2 separate regions of the Homo sapiens genome follow, and region 1 is linked to region 2. The links are contacts of gene promoters, found by promoter capture Hi-C in human tissues and cell types (Jung and others, 2019). All regions are on one chromosome and are shown on one strand. Each heading gives the region's core, a stretch centred on a gene start or on the middle of the fragment in contact. The rest is flanking DNA. Distances are from core to core; before and after follow the strand shown.

What was found. Contacts are between HindIII fragments. The study calls those that stand out against the background at their distance.
Region 1: a contact is called between a fragment that was not itself captured here and the fragment with the promoter of FUT8 in region 2, in 1 of the 25 tissues and cell types used here (dorsolateral prefrontal cortex).

What each region holds. Positions count from the first base shown.
Region 1 is chr14:66,510,547-66,513,898 of GRCh38, forward strand. All of the region lies in intron 1 of GPHN (gephyrin), which reads left to right. Among named protein-coding and RNA genes, the nearest start is that of GPHN, 4.1 kb to the left of the region's middle. The HindIII fragment of the contact is 6,277 bases long and covers 1-3,352 here.
Region 2 is chr14:65,411,354-65,414,712 of GRCh38, forward strand. It overlaps FUT8 (fucosyltransferase 8), which reads left to right and starts at 1,377. Exons shown (of 11, transcript NM_001371533.1): 1 at 1,377-1,861. FUT8-AS1 (FUT8 antisense RNA 1) reads right to left here and starts at 1,264. Exons shown (of 1, transcript NR_024334.1): 1 at 1-1,264. RefSeq lists enhancers at 556-875, 2,118-2,682 and silencers at 1,416-1,575, 1,876-1,995, 2,006-2,195. The HindIII fragment of the contact is 6,462 bases long and covers 1-1,796 here.

The DNA of each region.
Region 1 (3,352 bases), core at 423-2,922, 1.1 Mb after region 2:
TAATTATTGTGCAAAACTTTTCTAAATACATTACCTATGAGTTTGGGGTTAACTGCAAAAGAAATTCCGTATTCAGATGGATTAGGAGAGAATGTGACTACCTGAAGGGAGAATTTAATACATTTACTAGGTCAAGAAGAAACTGTCAATTTTAAGGGGAGTTGAAAGTCAGCAGCCACTTTATAAATAAATATATAGTTGATGATGAGGCTTCTGAGCTAAATAAAAATGCAATGTAAAGGCCTTGAAAAGCTGAAGTGGAATGGGTAGGTGGCATAGGTAAAATGTTAGAGAGAAGGTAACATTAACATTGACAGTGGAATTAAAGACAGTCAGGGGAAGCCGTCTCATGAGAATGAGGTACAGTAGTCTAGGGGGAAAAGTCTAGGGCCAGGAACAAGGATGTAGCTGAAGGAATGAAAAGGCAGCTACAGATTTGGAATAAGTGATAATAGAGGAAAATAGGTTTTGATGATAACATGTATATTTGAAGTCAGAAGTAACTCAGGCTTTTTCTTGAAAGTTGTTGATACAGATATTGTCTACTATGATGGAGAGGAAAGAAAACTGATTTTTCTCAAGTCTGTAACTAGTGGGTTTCATTATCAACAGCTTAATTTCTGTGGTCTTGCCTGATATACCATATGATTTGGGGGAAAGAACTTACAAAAATGAAGCTGTGCTGTACAATTTTGTGTATTCTAGAACTTGAGGTTTTGCAGTTTTACTATGTAGAATTATTCTTTACTGAACTGAAGTATTGTGATTTCATACTTAAGAAAGTTGAGTTGAACTGTGGTTTTTGTAAATTATTATTTGTGGCTCTTAAAAGGTGGAGGGTCTCTTTTAGAAAATCTCCTTGGCATGCTTCGTAATACTAATTTTAAGTATTTTATCTATATCTATTTTACAAAGATAGTGGAAAGTGTGATCTACCCACACACACATTTTACAATATGTTACTTAGTATTTTGTGAAGTCATATTGTCATTTCTAAAGTTTTTAATTGACGTTGTGACATTTTTTATTACCTGTTGAAAGATATTTGTTCTTTGAAACTTTTCATCCATTAGATGTTTTCGTTATCTTCATTTCAGTTGTAAATTTGGCAAATTTAGTACATAGTCTGTTGAGACTTCTCATTAAATAAATTAATTGTATTAGGTTTATGAAAGAATAATGGTAGAAAGGGAAATATTTAGCAGAAGCATTTTTTTGCTTCATTATTTTGAATTATTAAGCACTTGAAAATGAGATTATGATAATTAATGTAACATGGATATTCTAATTATACTTTTTTTTAAATCAGGAAAATGAGAACATATATGTATATAAAATAGGCTGTATGTGGAAACATTTTATGTTGAATATTATTGTCCATCTCTAACAACAATAACTTTGTTCGAAACTGTCTTATGTTGACTTGACAGAAATGAAAGTCACATGGTGTTTGGTGACCTAAGGTCTAGTTTGAAATATTTCTGTGTCTAATTAGTTGTCTACTTGTATTACTATTTATAGAAGAGACTAGAGGTAATATGGTAATGAGTAACATGAAGCAAATAAACAAGTATCTGCTACTTGAAAACTAGAAACAGGATGTGGTGCAGATGTAGAATTTTTTTCTAACAGCTTTAGTAGTGATTATACTTGAAGTCAATCTTACCAGTTACATAGCAGGCTCACTATATCTGGAATATGTCACTCTTCACATACTTTTTTCTATTTTGAAAGAAGCTGTTTATCAAAGCAGCATACTAGTTTTACCTGTAAAAGCTCTACAGAAACATTACTAGGAAAATAATGACTACATGTATGTATAGAATGTAGAATCATATAGATTATTCCATTGGCTACTGAATATCGTATTAGTTCGCTACAGCTAATGTTTGATACCAAGGTACTTAGCTGAAGATGATAATCCATTACCTAAATTGTCACTAATAGGGGCATGAATGAGAAAAAGGTACAAATTTTTGGGAAAGGGCATTTTTAAAAATCATATTTTTGCTGTAGTAATATACATTTTAATTGCACTAACCTGTTGATTTGAAATCAGTAAGAGATACTGGAACAAATATAAGACTAGGTACTAGAGATTAGTTAAAAGACTAATTGTAAATGAGAACATCAAAATATTACAGTAACAGGTAGGGAGTATTTCAGTTATTCATAAATGAAGTCATTCAAAGTATTAAAAAAACAAGCTTGAGCCAAGCAGATGCTACTGTCATAACTCTGCAATTGTTTAAGCATTTACTTTTTTACATTCTTGAAACCTGTTCTGGTATATTATGTGTCAATATTATTTTCTGAAAAGCCCATTTATTGATAAGGATATATACATATTATATCTGTTTTGAGAATAGATGTCATTAAGTAGGCAAATTACTATTAAATCCTACTAAGTGGAACTGTATGTTCTGCCTAACTTAGCTGTTTTTTTAATATGTGTTTTTAATATTGATCTATATGACTTGAAAGGAATCCTATTTCTTGAAATAGATTGTTATTTTGTGAATTTTTTGTTGAAAGCAATGTATTAGAGAATTAAATGTTTAGGCAAAGTAGGAAAATGTTAAATTAATTTCTAATGAATATACTTAGTACTATTATCATTGGTCAAAGACTTGAAAAAGTATTAGTTGCTATACAATAAGAATTTTAACTATATTAAAAACACATGTGACAATTTGACTTCAAAGTGAATATACTTAATACTATCATCACTGGCCAAGGACTTGAAAAAGTATTAGTTGCTATACAATAAGAGTTTTAAATACATTAAAAACACATACAACTATTTGACTTCAAGCAGGCATATAGTGGAAAGTCAATAGTATGTTTTTAGGGAGGAAGTGACGAATAAGAGTCTATTTTTAATCTTGCTAGTGATAGATTCCTGGCTAAGTTGAACAGGGTGTTTTTAAAAACAATCAGTAAAATAGATAAAATCTATTACTCTGTTTCTGTAAATAGGATTGAAGAATAATGAAGCATATTTGGAATTTGAAAGGTATTAAAAAAAGATCCTGAAAAAGAAAGTAGTGAAACCACAAAGGATTTCTTCCTTCACATCTGGGCAGAGAAGATAAATACCAAGGAAGAAGAAAAGATTGTTTAACCTACTTAAAAGTAATTGGGACTGTAGTCAATATGAATGGCATCTAATCTCACTTTCATTAAAAAGTTTTTTTGAGTGACCTCTCAAAAAGGAAATGTTTAATGAAGTATTGCTAGGTAGAAGTTCTATCCAGGTTCTTTAATGAATTTATAAACTAAATTGTTTTTAATAAATTAATTTTAACTAAGTAGAGCTTCTTGAAAATTTTGTGTTTAAACAACCCCAACA
Region 2 (3,359 bases), core at 127-2,626:
TGTTTAAAGAGCTGACAATAAATACGAGTCTCAAGGTCTAGGAAAGCCTCCCTCACAACCTGAGCTGCTTGAGGACAAGGGATTTTCTTTTGAATCAGCAGTACCTTATTTGTGTATCTGTGATAGAGTTCCTGGTACATAAGAAGGTCTCAATAAATATGTGAATTTATGAATATTAGGCAGATTGCAACCTTGACAGGCCACTGCCTCTTAAATCTCCTTTCTGTGATCTTTTAATATTTAACATCTAAAAGGCCGCCGCTACTTGCTTTGGGATAAGTATCCCCGGTATGTACTTTAAAATGCCCAAGCCTAGAGAAATGATTCTTGTCTTAAGGGCACCATTTCGCTCTCCCACCGTAAAGCGCCCCAGGCTTGGGATCTGGGTCCCAAGGCTACAGGGAAGAGTTTGGAACGGGAAGCTCATCTTCCGGCCCTCTGATTGGCCGGCTCGCACTCCACTCACGCGGCGCGCAGCTCTGATTGGCCTCGGCGGCACCCCTCGTCCCGCGACTACTTTGTGTGCTGGGGCGGCGCGCTCCGGTCCTCCCGCTCAGCTGGCGGTCTGGGCTGCTCTGGGGCAGCCCTTCGGTCCACTGCTCTGCATCGCGGGCGCCGGGAATTTTCCGAGTCCGAGCGGGTAGGACGCATCCTAGGGCAAAGCCTCTCCCCTCTCCCCGTGCTGTTCTCTTTCCCGTACTAAATAAACTTCCGCCTCAGAGGGGCTGTCGCAGCCGCGGGTCGGGAGAGGCCGGGCATCGAACTCAGGCCCTCGTGGGGGGGGTCTTTCTCTTCGAGTGAATGTGGAAACAGCTCTTACAAGATAAAGTAGGGCTTCGCTGAGTCTCCTGGGGGAGCGATGCCATTGTAGGATCGCGCTGGAAGCAGCAGTCAAGCGGCCAAATGCGGGCTGCAGGGGCTGAGCAGCAGCAGCGCGCACCCCTAAAAGTAGCAAGGAGCCAGCTTCAAAACCTCTAGTGCGGGTGCCCCCTAGGGCCGCCGACTGAGCTGGCACGGGCCGGTCCATTCCCGGCGCTGTAGGGAGCACAGCATTCTCTGGAGGCGAGTCTCCTCCCGGGATCCAGGATCCGCTCGCGCCCCGCTCAGCCTCCGGCCTTCAGGCGGTAGAGGGCGGCCTACGCCTGTGTGCGAGCCGGAGCCGGCGTGCGCAGCCGCTGCCCTGCTGGAACTGTGCCGTCCCGCTGTGGCCCGCGGCTCTGCTAGGCGGTGGATGCTGCTGCTACGCTCTCCACCGGCGCAGCGAGGAAGGGGGCGGGGAGAATCCCTGGCACATGCCAGGGTCGCCGTAGGTGGCAGCGGCCGGCGCATGCGCGCCCTCTCCCAGAAGCCAGGAACGCCGAGGGGCGCGCTCCCCCATTCGCGCGCGCACGCCGGCGCTGGCCGAGGCTTCCCCGCCTGCGCTCGTTGTCAGAGCCGCTCCGGCGCGTGCGCGCGTTATCTCCGGCCGACCCGAGCAGCCGGTTCCCTCCTCTCCAGGCCCCCTCCCCATCCCACCCCCGCCGCCTGGCCCCAGCCGACCCGTCCCTTCGTCTCCCCGCGGAATGGGGCCGGCACTGCTCAGGGTCGCGCGCCCTGGACCCAGCTCGCTCTCGGTCTCGCGCTGTCAGCGACTGCCCGGCTCGCGCCGCCTCGCGCTCTGCCTCAGTCAGTGGCGCCGAAGGCTCCGTTAAGCGGCGGCGGCGGTTCCTGTTTCCGTTTCTTCCTCTCCGTTCGGTCGGGAGTAGCATCCTCCACTCAGCCACCCTTCCCACTCCCCCATCGTGGGGCAGCTGCGGCTGAGGGCTGTGGCTTTGGCAGCTGCGACGGGGAGCGGCGGAGACCGCCTCTGCTCCCGCCTGGGGTAAGGGGGCGTTTTGGGAGCCGGGCCCCGCGCGCCTCGGGGTCTTGGGCTGGGCTGCGCGCGGGATCTGAGGAGGCTCCGCGGCTGTCCCTGCTCGTTCACCCGGGCCTGTTGCTGCAACTGCTGCCGGTTAACCAGCGGCTCTCGGAAAAGTGGGGAGGGAGCCCCCGGGACGCTCTGGCGGATGCCTTGGCGCAGCCCCGGGGGCGCGGGCAGAGGGTGAGGGGCGCCCGCCTCTCCAGCCGGGACGCGGAGCTGCGCCGCTGCTGCCCTCGGCGTCGCGCATCCTTGCCTAGGGCAGGGGCCAAAGCCTAGGGAAGGAGAAGGGTTGGGGGCGGGGGTGGGAGGTGTCCGTCGTTTCCCCTCCACACCTACCTTCCCTTCGTCAGCAGCTCGGTCCCTGGAGTCGCGGTTTGTGGGGAGGAAGATGCCCGTGCGTTATGGGCTCTTTCTGAGTGCTGCTCGGGCTAGAAAGCAGGGAGTGGACCCTCACAAAGATCCGCGAGGGACTGATGCAGGGCAGTTAAAGGCTTGAGTGCAGCTGTACTCCCTTTTGATGTGCAAATGACGAGCTGGCGGCTTTTGAGTATCAACTTATTTGGGAAGGTTAAATGAGTCCATATTTATCAGTTCTAGGAGGTTTGTCCTGCAGGATTGAGTGGGTTGTCGGGTGCAGCACCTGTTCTTTCTTCACAGTGGGGATTGCAATCTTCAGAGACGCAGTGTATTTCTTAAGTGGCAGTGTCATGCTTAGGGTTTGTCCCGGATGAGCTTTTATTTTAGCATTTTGCCATATAATATATAGATTGAGGCCTTGGTTAAAGGCACGGACAGGTGGTGTTTTTTTCCTTCCTATGTTTTAATTATTCACAGTTTATTTAAACCCACTCAGGAAGGTGGACCCAGAAAAGCCAAATTCTGTAGTACATAACCCCAAATTTCAAGGTTTTGCGGAACAAATTCAACACAAGTTTTGTGTCAGTTTAGAGTTAAACGCATCTCAAGTAACTGACTTAACTGGCTTGCCTCTATGAAAACTGTAGGCAGGTTTCATTATAGATTTTTTTTTTCTTGTTATTCCGGCGGTTAGGTGCATGTTTATTTTCTTGATTAAATTTACATTCTATGTTTTATGACTAATTCTTTAAATAGGTGCATCATATAGAAAGTATTTTAGGAGAGAAATTATTATTTAAGCACTACAGTATATCAGATATATGAGAAATAATGGAGTTGTAGTCTCTGCTCTTTAAAATAACTGTAAAAACATCTTAAAACCCTATGCCAAATAATAAGGCCCTGTACCTTGCTGTCCTTGTGAAATCTGGTATGTGTATAGAAAATCTTAATTACTTGATTTGTAAATACTACAGTAGTATTGAAAAGGTGGGAATTCAAGCATTTGTAATTGTGATTTCACAGGTTTAGTGTGTAAAAAATGCAGGGAGTTAGAGATGAATAGGCTATAAGACACGTACAAAGGTAGTTCCAAGACATG